Linked DNA regions of Homo sapiens: region 2 is linked to region 1. The links are contacts of gene promoters, found by promoter capture Hi-C in blood cells and fetal thymus (Javierre and others, 2016). All regions are on one chromosome and are shown on one strand. The core of a region is centred on a gene start or on the middle of the fragment in contact, and the rest is flanking DNA. Distances in the headings are between cores, read along the strand shown.

Region 1 (6,536 bases), core at 161-2,660:
CACACTTGCTTGGAGCTCAAAAAGGGTCAGTTTGAAGGAGTTTTATACCAGCTTCTTCCCTGGGAGAGGAGCCAAGAGAGGCCTATGGCAGCTTCCAGATATTAAGTTCCACAACCCCTGCCCCCACCTCCAGCCCTTCATCAGAGTCCCTACTTACTTGCTGTTTTAGGGCATTTTCAGCGACTTCACTCTCTTCTACCTCAAACGCCATCCACTTTTGGAGACAGGTACCACTGCCCCTAGGCAGGGACTTGGGAGAGGACCTTATGAGTCAAACCTCTATGAACCCCAACCTTTTTGTACTCGGGGAGGCTGAACCCCTGCCCAAAATAGCGCGGTGAAAGCTACTGCCTTCTCCCAAGTAGGGGCCTCCAGTACTGCCACAGCAGGGGCCGCATTCCTGGCGCCTCTTCATTCGAAAAACCTCTTTCCAGGAGACTTCGCTGATTCTGAACGAATACTTTAAAATATGGGCAAGGGAAAAAAAAAGACAACTCTTAGAAACTCTCCCCACCCAACATACCTGGAGTGCAGGCGAGGTCCAGGCAAACGGGAAAGCGACTTCTTGTACGAATAGCCATCTCAAGATGAAGCCAGGCTGTGGAAAACTTAAGGCCATCTAGATGGGAAGGAGGTATTTAAAAGAAATCAGCACACACTCTTACAGAAGCCAAGGCGGGTCTTTAAATTAAAAAATAATAATAAGGTATTTATTTCTTGCCCCTTAGGGAAGAAAAATAGCAAAGTTTGGTTCGCAGGAGTAAGGAGACAGAGGTGGGTAGGGAGAGGGAGGAGAAAAGAGGAAAAGATGGCCCAGCCTCAAGCTCTCCAGTCAACTTGGGGCGGGGGAATACATTTTTCCGTAGCTTGTAAAAAGACTTTTCAGCCAGTTTGAGGTTAGCTGCCAGGGGCAGACAGTTGTAATAATGCCGACAGAATTGAGGCTTGTAAGCCGGGCTTCACACTTCTAAAATGCAGTTATGGATTCTTTCATCGGTGTTAGATCAAGGCACCAAGTTAAGAAAACAAAAGTCAAAACAACAATAAAAGAAAAAATCAAAAGCTTATTTAATTACCGAGTCCCGCTGCCCCTGCGGAACTCGCCGCGCGCGTTAAGCTCTCTTTTCTTTCTGCGGAATTCCATTTGCATCCCCTCTGCCTGGGTGTCTCCCTCTCTCAGTGTGTGTGTCTCTCTGTCTGTTTTCACACTCTCCTCCCCAATCGAGCGAGGCCCACACCTGGCGCATCACTGCCGAGCCATTAGCTGCGGGTTTCCTTTCATCTTCGCTGTGGCAGACGTTTCTATTTATCCACTTGCGCTCGCCGAGTGGCGTCACCAGCGGTACTGTAATGACGATTGCAGCAGGAGGATGACAGCTTAGAAAGAAGAGGGCAATGGGGCTTCCTCCCAGAGGCGGTGCGGCACAGAGGAGCGCTCGCTTCACAAGGTGACCCTAGCTCCCACCGCCACCGCCGCGGTCGCGGTCCAGACCGCGCTCCAGCAGCTCCGCGCCCTCCCAGGCACCCGGCCTTTCTTTCTCCCTCTTGCAACCAAGATCCGTCCGGCCGCTGGAGACCCAGGGAGCCGGGGTTAGGAACTCACTTGGGGCTTTCCCCTCCCCCACCGGAGAGCCCCGGGATGGAGAGCCGAAAGGACATGGTTGTGTTTCTGGATGGGGGTCAGCTTGGCACTCTGGTTGGCAAGAGAGTCTCAAATTTGTCCGAAGCCGTGGGCAGCCCGCTGCCGGAGCCGCCCGAGAAAATGGTGCCCCGTGGTTGCCTGAGCCCTCGGGCCGTCCCTCCGGCCACCCGGGAGCGCGGCGGGGGAGGCCCGGAGGAGGAGCCGGTAGATGGACTCGCAGGCAGCGCGGCGGGGCCGGGCGCCGAGCCCCAGGTAGCTGGGGCGGCCATGCTCGGCCCAGGACCCCCGGCCCCCTCAGTCGACAGCCTCTCCGGACAGGGGCAACCCAGTAGCTCGGACACCGAGTCGGATTTCTATGAAGAAATCGAGGTGAGCTGCACCCCGGACTGCGCCACCGGGAACGCCGAGTACCAGCACAGCAAAGGTAGCCACCGTGCCCCTCCGCTCCCCGGGCCTCCCACTGCGCCCACCCTTCACTTCGGCGCAGGCCAGGAGGAAGACACTCCCTTCCCCTAGGGCAGGATGGCTGGGGGGACCCACCTGAGCAACTCTCTCTGCTATCTGCGTTCTGGCGGGGGTCTCCTACTGTGTTCTGGCATTGGCGGGACTGAGGGTGACAGCAGTGCCTTGAGTGCGGGGTGCTGAGGGGGCGGATGCAAGTCCTGGACTTGGGGGATTCGAAGCTCACCCCAAGCACCCAGTGTTTCAACTGCTCGGGGAATGCTTCAATTGCTCGGGGAAGACACTTTCCCCAGGCGAGGGCAAGATCAAACGCCGATCCGGGCAGTTTGTGGCTGGCAGGGTGTAAGAGGCATGGAGGCGCGGAAGCCAGGAGTCCATAAAGGACCGTAAAATTGCGGCCCACTTGGGCAGCCCGGGTGCTGCAGCCCTCCGACCAGTTTGCACGTCGGTCAGAGGTCCAAATTACCTTGTCACTTCCCGGGCTTCGCGGCGCCAGGTCGGAAATGGTCCCAATGGTCTAATTGCCTTTGGTCTCCGGTTGCATTTGAAAAGGCAGAGATCGGGTCCTCCCCCCTTCCCCTTTCCTTCCTAGTCCCACTTCTCCACCCAAAGGAAAAGGAGCTGCAGGGGGCTGGAGCCCCACCCTTCTCAGAGGTAGGCCCAAAGGGGGGCTGGTTTAACTGGAGAACCCCTCCCCACCAAAGGCTAATGGGAAAGGGGTGGATAGCCCGGAAGGGAGTTTCCCTCTGTGCCAACAATCACCTCCCCAGAAGGGGGTAGAAAACTGGGCGCGGGTTGGTGGGGGGGAGGAGAGGGGAGCCCACCAGCAGACACTCCTCCACAGAACTGTAGGAGTGGGTGGAAAGAGCCTGGGGGCGGGGGGGAGAAAGACCACCCCCTGGTCTTGGCAGCCAACGCCTTGTTGAATACCTGCACCTACCCCTTACTATCTTATCACCGATTTCACCCAGCCTCCTTCCCATAACCCTCAGAACAACCTGGACTCCACTCACATATACTAAGGTAATAAATAAGATACTCAACATGCATTCTCACTCCAGCCCTGCAATACACGGAACCTAGTACACATTCCCACACCTGTTCTGGCAGCCCGTCACACATAAGAGCAAGGAAACTCTCTGAATGCCCAGCATACTACAATGCACTTGACCCAGAGTTTACAACCCTCTAGCACAAAGGTGCATCTCAACTCATGTGCCTGTCAGAAGTGCACGCCCTGCCAACGGGAGGCAGAAATCTCACCTATGCTCCAGGGCAGGTGGGAAGGGCGGCTGGGAACCCCTGTACCCAGGATGCCTTAGAGGAAGGGAAGGCCTCCCCAAAGACCTCTACCTACCCAATCAAGGGCAGGCCCTTATTTTCCCTTCTTGGGTTCCCCAGAGGCCGCAGTACCCTAGCAGAAACAGTTACTGAGGTGGCTGACAGGGTGTCCCTTCCCAAATCACCCTCCCACCTTAGGCCTACAGCCCCACTTCAATGGCGTTTGTGTGTCTGTGTCTGTACACGCCTGTGCTCTGGACTCGCTGTGCAGGGTCCGGCTCCGAGGCGCTGGTCGGCAGTCCGAACGGAGGGAGCGAGACCCCCAAGAGCAACGGCGGCAGTGGTGGGGGCGGCTCGCAAGGCACCCTGGCGTGCAGCGCCAGTGACCAGATGCGTCGTTACCGCACCGCCTTCACCCGAGAGCAGATTGCGCGGCTGGAGAAGGAATTCTACCGGGAGAACTACGTATCCAGGCCGCGGAGATGTGAGCTGGCGGCCGCCCTAAACCTGCCGGAAACCACCATCAAGGTATGCGGGGTCCAGGCTGGGGAGGCGGGTGTGCACCTATTTAGCGGGAAGTAAATGCCAACTGCCAACTCCCTGAAACGCAGGCCAGGAATCTGGGCCTGGGGTCTCCCTGCCCGGCGCGTGCAGATTGACCCTCGTGACAGCTCCTAGGCAGGCATTGCTGCCATGTGGCTGACTCTGTCCCTTTCCTGGTTAAATAGACAAGGGGTGGGCGTGGGGGAAGGGGATAGAGTGCCTGTGCGGGTGACAAGGAAGTTTCTGGGGACACGCTCTCTGCGGCCGCAGACCAATTGAGTCCATGTCCTTTCACTGCTCCTCCCATACACACACTGGCCTCTGGCACCCCGGGGGCCTGGCCACCTGGGCAGAAGGAAGGAGGGAGCGGGCTGGAGTCACTCCCCAAACCTCTCTCGGAGGGATTCCAGCTCCAGGTGGTGGTGGTGGGGTCGGTCTCTACCCGGCTGGTGTCTGCTTTGGCTGTTCCTGCCCTGCGAACACTGTCCCCGGAGCGGGACCAGACTACTGGCCTCTGAGCATCGGGCCAAGTCCAGCTACTGAACCTGCTCCGCTCCTCTCCCCAGGTGTGGTTCCAGAACCGGCGCATGAAGGACAAGCGGCAGCGCCTGGCCATGACGTGGCCGCACCCGGCGGACCCCGCCTTCTACACTTACATGATGAGCCATGCGGCGGCCGCGGGCGGCCTGCCCTACCCCTTCCCATCGCACCTGCCCCTGCCCTACTACTCGCCGGTGGGCCTGGGCGCCGCATCCGCCGCCTCCGCCGCCGCCTCGCCCTTCAGCGGCTCGCTGCGCCCGCTCGACACGTTCCGCGTGCTGTCGCAGCCCTACCCGCGGCCCGAACTGCTGTGCGCCTTCCGCCACCCGCCGCTCTACCCCGGGCCCGCGCACGGACTGGGCGCCTCTGCCGGCGGCCCCTGCTCCTGCCTCGCCTGTCACAGCGGCCCGGCCAACGGGCTGGCGCCCCGGGCTGCCGCCGCCTCGGACTTCACCTGTGCCTCCACCTCCCGCTCGGACTCCTTCCTCACCTTCGCGCCCTCGGTGCTCAGCAAGGCCTCCTCCGTCGCGCTGGACCAGAGGGAGGAGGTGCCCCTCACTAGATAAGGGGCCGCCGGCTGGCTGCCGGCTCCATGACGCCCGTGGGGTCACCCCCCGGCCCCGGGACTCAGCCAGCCTCGCTCCTCGCTCCTCGCTCCTCGCCCCTAGGACGCCAAGGGGGAAAGGAGAGGGCGGAAAAGGACCAGCGGGATCCGGCCGCAAGAATTGGAAAGCCTAGGAAGTGGCGGTGGCTGGCGCGTTTGGGGAGCAGGAGTGGGGATAGGGAAGCAGAGCTTGAGAGACCTTCCTCCGGGGCAGCCTCCGGACCCACCGCCCCCCACCAGGGTCGAGGCTGTAGCTCCAAAGCTAAACAAAACTTAGCAGCAACAGCAACCAATATCCAGTCCCTCGGCCCCTCGGCCCCTCACCCTCCACCTCACACTCCCTTCTCACCGGGCCCCCTCTCCCCAGCCAAGGCCCAAGCACTGGAAAGGGAAATTGCTGTCTCTCTGAACAAAATGCTGTGTATGCAGAGCAGGTAGAGATTAATCTTTGCCAGCTTTTCCAAGGCATGACAAGGGGCTGGTGGATGGCAACATACCAGTCATTTGGAGGAGAGAGTGAGAGATGATTTACTACCAGGGAGAATCCAGCCCCTTGGCATGGGACCTGGAGCCTCGACTACACAGCATCTTCTGGGTCTGGCGTCTGCCAGCACCTGATCTCTTTCCTCATTCCCAGCTTTGTGACACTTCTCAACTTGCGGCTCCATCTCTCCCTGCCCCCACTTTTTTGTTGGCCAGGGAGGCTGCAGATGCCCCAGGAGCCCTTTGCCGCTTCTATGAGGCCAAGCCTTTTTTCCCTGGGCCCAGCACACACCCTGATTAGCAAGTGATGTGTGCGAGGAGGGTTTGTGAATGTTGAATGTGTAATAATGATCACCATGGAGCTGGCCACTGACCCCAGAGCTGAGCTGTTAACAAGGCGCCCAGGGAAGAGCTTAGGGAGTGGGAACTTCACCTCCCTCTCTCGGTATCTGGCGGTAAATTAGAGGCAATTTTCATCCTTTGCTTGTTCACCTTCACTTCACCAGGAACTTTCTGGCCCTACCCTTTGCATTGGGTATTTTACAACTTTCTCTCATTTTCTTCCCAAGCTACCACTGGAGCTTGACTTTCAGATACCAGTGGGAGCCTTCTGTCCCTTTTGGGGACCCTGTCTGTGGCCTCCACCAGGGTTTGTTTAGAGCCACTCCCAAATCCTCACTCCCACACTCATCCTTGCAGCCAGTTTTTGAGGAAGAGGAGAACGTGTAACCCCAATGCAAGCTTCACCCTGACTGAGAGGGAGTGGTTCTTCCTGTAGGGAATGAATTTGGTTTGATTTGGGGTTTTCCTTTGAAGCCCAAAGAACTTGCTGTTATGATTCGTTAACCATATTGCAATAAAAGCTGGACATAATTCTCACTTTACATTTTAGTTTTTGTGGCAGCAGGCAGCTCTTAACTGAATTTTAAAGTTGCTATTTCAGCCACCATGGGTTCGAATAGGGAAGGAACCAAAAGATGG
Region 2 (6,326 bases), core at 1,680-4,179, 1.4 Mb before region 1:
CCCTCGCACACTGTTGGTGGGAATGTAAATTAGTACAGCCACTATGGAGAACTGTATGGAGGTTCCTCAAACACTAAAAATAGAGCTACCATAGGATCCAGCAATCCCATTGCTAGGTATATACCCAAAAAGAAGGAAATCAGTATATCAAAGAGATATCTGCATTCCTATGTTATTCACAATAGCCAAGATTTGGAAGCAACCTAAGTGTCTGCCAACAGACGAATGAATAAAAAAACTGTGGTCCATATACACAATGGAGTACTATTCAGCCATGAAAATGAATAAGATCCTGTCACTTGTAACATGGTTGGAACTAGAGGGCATTATGTTAAGTGAAATAAGCCAGACACAGAAAGACAAACTTTGCATGTGTTCTCACTCATTTTGGGGGAGTTAAAACAATTGAACCCATCAAAATAGAGACTAGAATGATAGTTACCAGAGGCTGGGAAGGGTAGTGTGGGGAGATGGAAAATGGGGATGGTTATTGGGCACAAAAATATGGTTATATATAATGAATAAGATCTAATACTTGATAGCATAACAGAGCGACTACAGTCAGCAATATTTGCTGTACATTTTAGAATAACTAAGGGAGCACAACTGGAATGTTCATAACACATACAAATGATGGATTTTTCAGATGATGAATATCCCCATTTACCCTGATGTGATTAAACATTTTATACCTGTAGCAAAATATGTCATGTACCCCATAAATGTATACACCTATTATATACCCATAAAAATTAAAAATTAAAATTTTTCATAAAGAAAAAACTAAAATAAAAACAAAATAGAACATAAAATATCAGATTGTATTGCACAGAATAAAGATAAGTATCATCTCCCAAAGCTTTCCTTTCCTGTTGGTGTGTGTCTAGTGTGTCACAACGTGCTAATTCAAAGACACGTGACTTGTGTTTTATGAAGAGTCTCAAGCAAGCAACATACTTTCTTCATCTGTCTGATCAGTCTTGGTGACTCTTGCACAACCCTAGACAGTTCAAGGTTTGTCAATTTACTCATCAATGTCCAGAGTCAAAGCTATCATCCAATTTTCCTTGTACTGCCTCCAGAATTATCACACTTTGTGTCTGGATCGGTGACACAGTAGTCCAGGCTCTGCCACCAGTCTCAATGACAGAAATGTTTTAATCTCTCAAACTATCATTCTGCCAAGTCTTTTTCTAGCATGCTGGGGCATCTACCCTCCTCCACACCAAGTTCATGCTAACTGCTTGCATGGGGTTCCCCGCCAGACAGCTGAGAGAACTCGACTCTCAAAACTGAGTTGCTCCTAGGAAATCCCTTATTTCTCTATTTAAACTTTCATTGATTGATTTCACAAATATCTTCTGCCTACTACATGGCACATGCTCTAGGCAGACAATGGTCAGCAAGACAAGAGTGGCCATTGCCCTGCAAAGTCCCCTGCCTTGTCAGATGTCAGAGTCCAGCTGTCACAAGACAGGTACAGTCTCAAGTTCTCTTTAGGACTGACAAGCATTTGCTGCATGACCTTTGGCAAAATATTCCATCCTGTCACTCAGAGGTTTGATTGCTCAGAAGTTGTGTTTTCTGGCCTACTGAGAATCACAGGATCTTAGACCTGGCAAGGCCCTTAAAGAGCAGATTCTCTATTTACTGATGAGGAAACTGAGCCCCAAGAGGTGTTATCCTTTGCCCACGGGGACACATGACCCACTAGGAACATGTGTGCCAGCACCCCCAGCCCACCCCAGGACTGCCCCCCCATAGTGAAGCTGAATATGATCAGTTCCTTATGAAGAATTGAGAGACCTTCAAAAGGAAGTACCCTACATCCTGAACTTTTCAGAGAGATGGGTGGTGCAAAATGTTCAAGTGACAACACACGTGGAAAAAAAAAAAAAAAACCAAAGGCATATTTGGATCTTGCAGAAGGGTTTTCAGCAATACAAAGGCACAAGAATGAGAACAGCAGGAGTCCCACTTACCAGGAGCATTCCCTTAAAGCCTCATGTGTGCCTCCTAATAAATCTGCTTTTTCCTTTTTGAAGTTTAAGCGCTCCCTTATTGAGCAGTCTCCTGGTAGCCAGGAGTCCCCTAGGAAACAATTGTCTTGCTTCCAGTGCTGGGGCACTCAGACTCTTGGTTTGGTTTGGTTGGTTGGTTGATGGGTGATTTTTCCCTCCCTCTATCTTCTTAAAACTCCAGCCAGCATATAGGGGTTTTTCGTTTAGCTTCCTCAGATCCCCAGCCATTTCCCTAAAAGTCCATCCCATTAAACATGAAATCCACAGAACACACACCAAGCTACTTTTTCTCTCCCCTAATAAATCAGGTAAATTACCTCTTTTGTTTTTAAGACCATTTCAAGTTCGCCTTTAACATTTTTAGTTAAGGCATTATTTATGTTGTGATTTAATCGAGATTTAATCCACTTCTCAGCACACCATCGTATCGCAATATCCCTGAATTTTTTGCCCATATTATTAAACTTGAGGAGCACGGTAATGTTTTCCTCAGGCATGACACTGATCATTTCCAGATTGTGCATGTCTCTCTGGCTTTTTAACACACCTGAGTTTCTAAGGCCCACTAAAATAAATAACGGTTTGGTCTGCAAAGAACTGGGGCTGCATTAATAAATGCAGAGAGATCTATGTTTATCTCCACTTTCTGAAAACATAAGCGTCTTCTACAAATATGAGTATACACAGCAGAAATCATGTGAATCTCTTGGTAAATGTTTGCCTTCACATCCTGGGGTATGCTGCACACCAGATGGTTTGATCAAAACAAAATCATACACACACACACACACACGCGCACACACACACACACACACACACATGTTTGAGCACCATGCCTCCTCATTTTTGTGACTTTTTTTCTCCTTTCATGCATGAGAAAGAATGTAGAAATACTTAGAATAATGACCAGTATGTTCTGTGTTTACTGCTGCTTTCCCTCACTAGAGATTAACTCATAAAATTTTACTCCAAATTAAACAAACTGAGGCTCTCCTTGCAGCCAGTCAAACTGCCACTTATACCAAAGGAAATCTTAACTTCCATCTCTGAGAGTTTGAACGGCCACCCCTGCGGAAAGATAACAGGGTCTCTCTTTTCCTCTCTGTGTTCTGCGAGTCCTTGGAGGTGCCAAAATACTTGTCTGGACTCTGGCCCCCAGGGCACTTCATCTGCAATTAGAATGGAAACTGTATTTTAGAACATTAACATCTCTCCTGCTGTTTTTTTTTAATGATCTGATTGCTCCAATTATAGTTATTTAGAGAAATCGGACAGTCAAGGATTTTACCAGTAGGTAGGCAAGAAAGCACCTTTGACTGTGGCAGAGGACTTGCAAAGACAATTGTGTCTAGGAAAGACTTAGGAACTGTCTCACCATCCTGTCTTCTCAGCTGAAATTTCTCTGGGGATGATTAGATGTTGTCTTTGAAAAATCCAAATGGGAGAATGTGTATAAAACTACCCCGTTCTGTGCCTTGAGCACAGTAAGTTTTCAATGGACGTTAATTCCGTTGGAATCCCAGGCTTGAGACTGCAATCCAACGATGCATGTAAAAGACCTTGAGAAAGAAAACAAAAAGGCTCAAGGTCATGACCTCACCAGTCTTTTTGTCTTCCTCTCTATATTGCTCGTGTTTCACAGCCTTCAGCCCCAGTAAACAACATTTTTACCTGGAAGGAGCTTAGAGAGGACTTTAATTTTAGAGGGGCATTTACAAAGATCCTCTGATGCAAGCTCCCTGCTTCCTACTGCTAAAAGTCTGCTTCTTTTCAACAGTGCCCGCCTGGAGCCATGGTTGTGTTTTTGTGTGGTCTCATTCCTGTTTTATGGATTGTTCATGTACCCTGGAATCCCTGGGATACTTCAATTACAAAAATTACCATGTGCTGGGTTCCTTTCGGGTTGACAAGACTGCTTTCCTCTCTCTCTAAGCCGGGTTGTGTTTGTTTACATAGGAAATGTACTCTTTCTTAACATTCACTGTTTCAACATCCACTTAGATAGCTTCATTAAAAAATGGGTTAAAAAATAAAGAAGGGTGGCAAGAAAAGGAAAAAAAATACATCTTTCTATTTCAACCAAAAATTTGGTTCAGAACAAACTTGGAAAATCAGAGGATGTTTTTCTTTTCATCGCTGAAACAATGCTCTGCTTGTTCTCCCCGGGCAATGAGAACTACCCGGGCTTGGATCAGTGGGTCACATTGTGCAAAGTGTTTTTCCTGTTTAAACTATGTGCTTTCTTAAATGTTATCTTTTTGGAAGAAAATTAGATAACCTTATGTCCCCAGACTATATCGTATTTGTTTGAATAGGAAATGCTAATATTTTTCTACATGTTTCGTATCGGTGTCAGTGGAAACTCAGTTTGGTGGTTAAGACAGGCCCCTCTAAGCTCTGGGAATCACATTGGCTATCTTCCAGAAGCCAAGAGGTTCACGGTGATTTTGAATAATCATCTCCATAGCTATGTGAAGTATCTATATTACTTAGCCAGAAGAAAACAAAATTATATTTACCTTTTCTGTATTTAATTAATTTATCTTTAAATATGTCATTTGATGAGATTTTCCTTCTTAATTTCTCTTCTCTTTACCTCCACCTCCTGTGTTACTTCTGCTTTCTACTCAGTCCTACCAATCAACTCCCCAAACTTCCTGCAACCTCTACTTAAAGATCATGCTTAATTAGTCATTATACCCAAGGATCTCTGCCCCATCCATCTGTTTCTGCATTCCCATTGGTCTAAGCCAATGCCTGTTACATCACAGCCCCACCCCTGCCCATGACTAGAGGCTCCCCCTTCCCACATGTCCCCAGTTGTGTTCAGGCCCCTTTATCTGACATTCTTGGAAGCAGAAATAGCAGCAGAAACACATTTCTGAAACAACAGACTCCCCACGCGAACAAGGTCTCTACTAAGACACATCAACCAAGTCCTCTGAAAGCAGCACTGCCCTATCTAAATTTTTTTAAAGTGAAGCTTGTCATTTGCACTTCAATCTCCATTTTTCAGTACCTTCTCTTCAAACACACGTGTTTACGTACTTAATACCATCTTGCTTCCCCATATGAAAATCTGCTCCCAGAAAATCTAGCGTCAGGCATGTATAACTTAATGCAAATTTAAGTTGGTGTGTTCCTTCTCCCAAGGGTACCTCAATTCTAAGCCCTGTATCTAACTAAAGAATGAAGATGTGTCCCCTCTTGATCATGTTTTAGCCGTCGGTGCTCAGATGGGAGAGATGGCACTTTCGACAATAAGACACACTCTTTCATGACTTTATTGTCACAAAAACATACCACGCAAGTGCTTTTCTGCTCCACTAGAACAAGAAAGGCCTCCTAAAAACCCTAAGTGTCTGTTTAAACTCAAAGCTTTAAACCTGAGACCCTTCCACCCTAAATGATAACACTGCTCTCCTGTTGCTCTATAATCAAACCAATAGCCTTAACTCTATATCTGGCAAATACAAGCAAGTAGCAATCATGCCCTCTGTTAAGTAAAGCACAAAAACAACAATGAGCAGAGGTGGGCTCATTGTAAGCCATGAACCTTAAGTCTCGGGGCCCTTCGCTTGCACAGGCCCCTTCCCAAACCCTAGGCAGGGGACCTAGCAATTTTGTATGCGTGATTTTACATTCTTTTTAAAGAAGGCCCCAAAATTGTATAAGCTTCAGGCCACATACAGCTTTTAGATCCACCCTGTTAGGGACTGAATTGTGTTCCCCAAAAATTCCTATGTTGAAGACTTAACTACCAATGTAACTGTATTTGGAAAAATAGGGCCTTCAAAGAGTTAACTGAAGTTAAATGAGGTCATAAGGGTGGAACCCTCATCCAATATGACTGTTATCCTTATAAAAAGAGGAAGAGACACTAGGGCTTCATGCACACAGAGAAAAGCCGCCATCTGCAAGCCGAGGAGTGAGGTCTCAGAAGAAATTAAACCTGTCTACACCTCAATCTCGGACTTCAAGCCTCCCGAACTAGCAGACAATCAATTTCTATTGTTTAAGCCACCCAGTCTGCAGAATTCTCTTATGGCAGAATCCACACCCCTAGAAATTAGATACCATTTTTTAACTTTTCACTATAAAATTTTCTTAATGTTAACATTCAGTTTAACACTGAAGTATAGTGAAATAGGTAATCAAACATACATTGCTGACAGGACATGATTCAACACAACTTTTTGGAAAGCAAATATTAAAAGACATAAAAATACTCGTTTTCATTACCCCAAGAATTCTTCTGGGACTCTATCCTGACCAAATAACTCAAAATATTTTAAAAACTATATA

The links. Contacts are between HindIII fragments. The CHiCAGO score rates a contact against its expected background, and 5 or more counts as called.
Region 2: a contact is called between a fragment that was not itself captured here and the fragment with the promoter of EVX1 in region 1, in 2 of 17 cell types (naive B cells and total B cells). The highest score is 13.2, in naive B cells.

Annotation. Positions count from the first base shown.
Region 1 is chr7:27,241,392-27,247,927 of GRCh38, forward strand. It overlaps EVX1 (even-skipped homeobox 1), which reads left to right and starts at 1,411. Exons shown (of 3, transcript NM_001989.5): 1 at 1,411-2,066; 2 at 3,657-3,913; 3 at 4,495-6,439. The coding sequence starts at 1,640. The coding sequence ends at 5,034. EVX1-AS (EVX1 antisense RNA) reads right to left here and starts at 5,838. Exons shown (of 4, transcript NR_120507.1): 1 at 5,570-5,838; 2 at 524-619; 3 at 158-250; 4 at 38-59. RefSeq lists enhancers at 1,029-1,906, 3,828-4,436, 4,437-5,046. The HindIII fragment of the contact is 5,233 bases long and covers 1,062-6,294 here.
Region 2 is chr7:25,828,370-25,834,695 of GRCh38, forward strand. It overlaps LOC100506236 (a long non-coding RNA gene), which reads right to left and starts at 4,715. Exons shown (of 3, transcript XR_108752.5): 1 at 4,541-4,715; 2 at 3,397-3,580; 3 at 2,922-3,190. RefSeq lists an enhancer at 1,731-2,303. The HindIII fragment of the contact is 4,145 bases long and covers 858-5,002 here.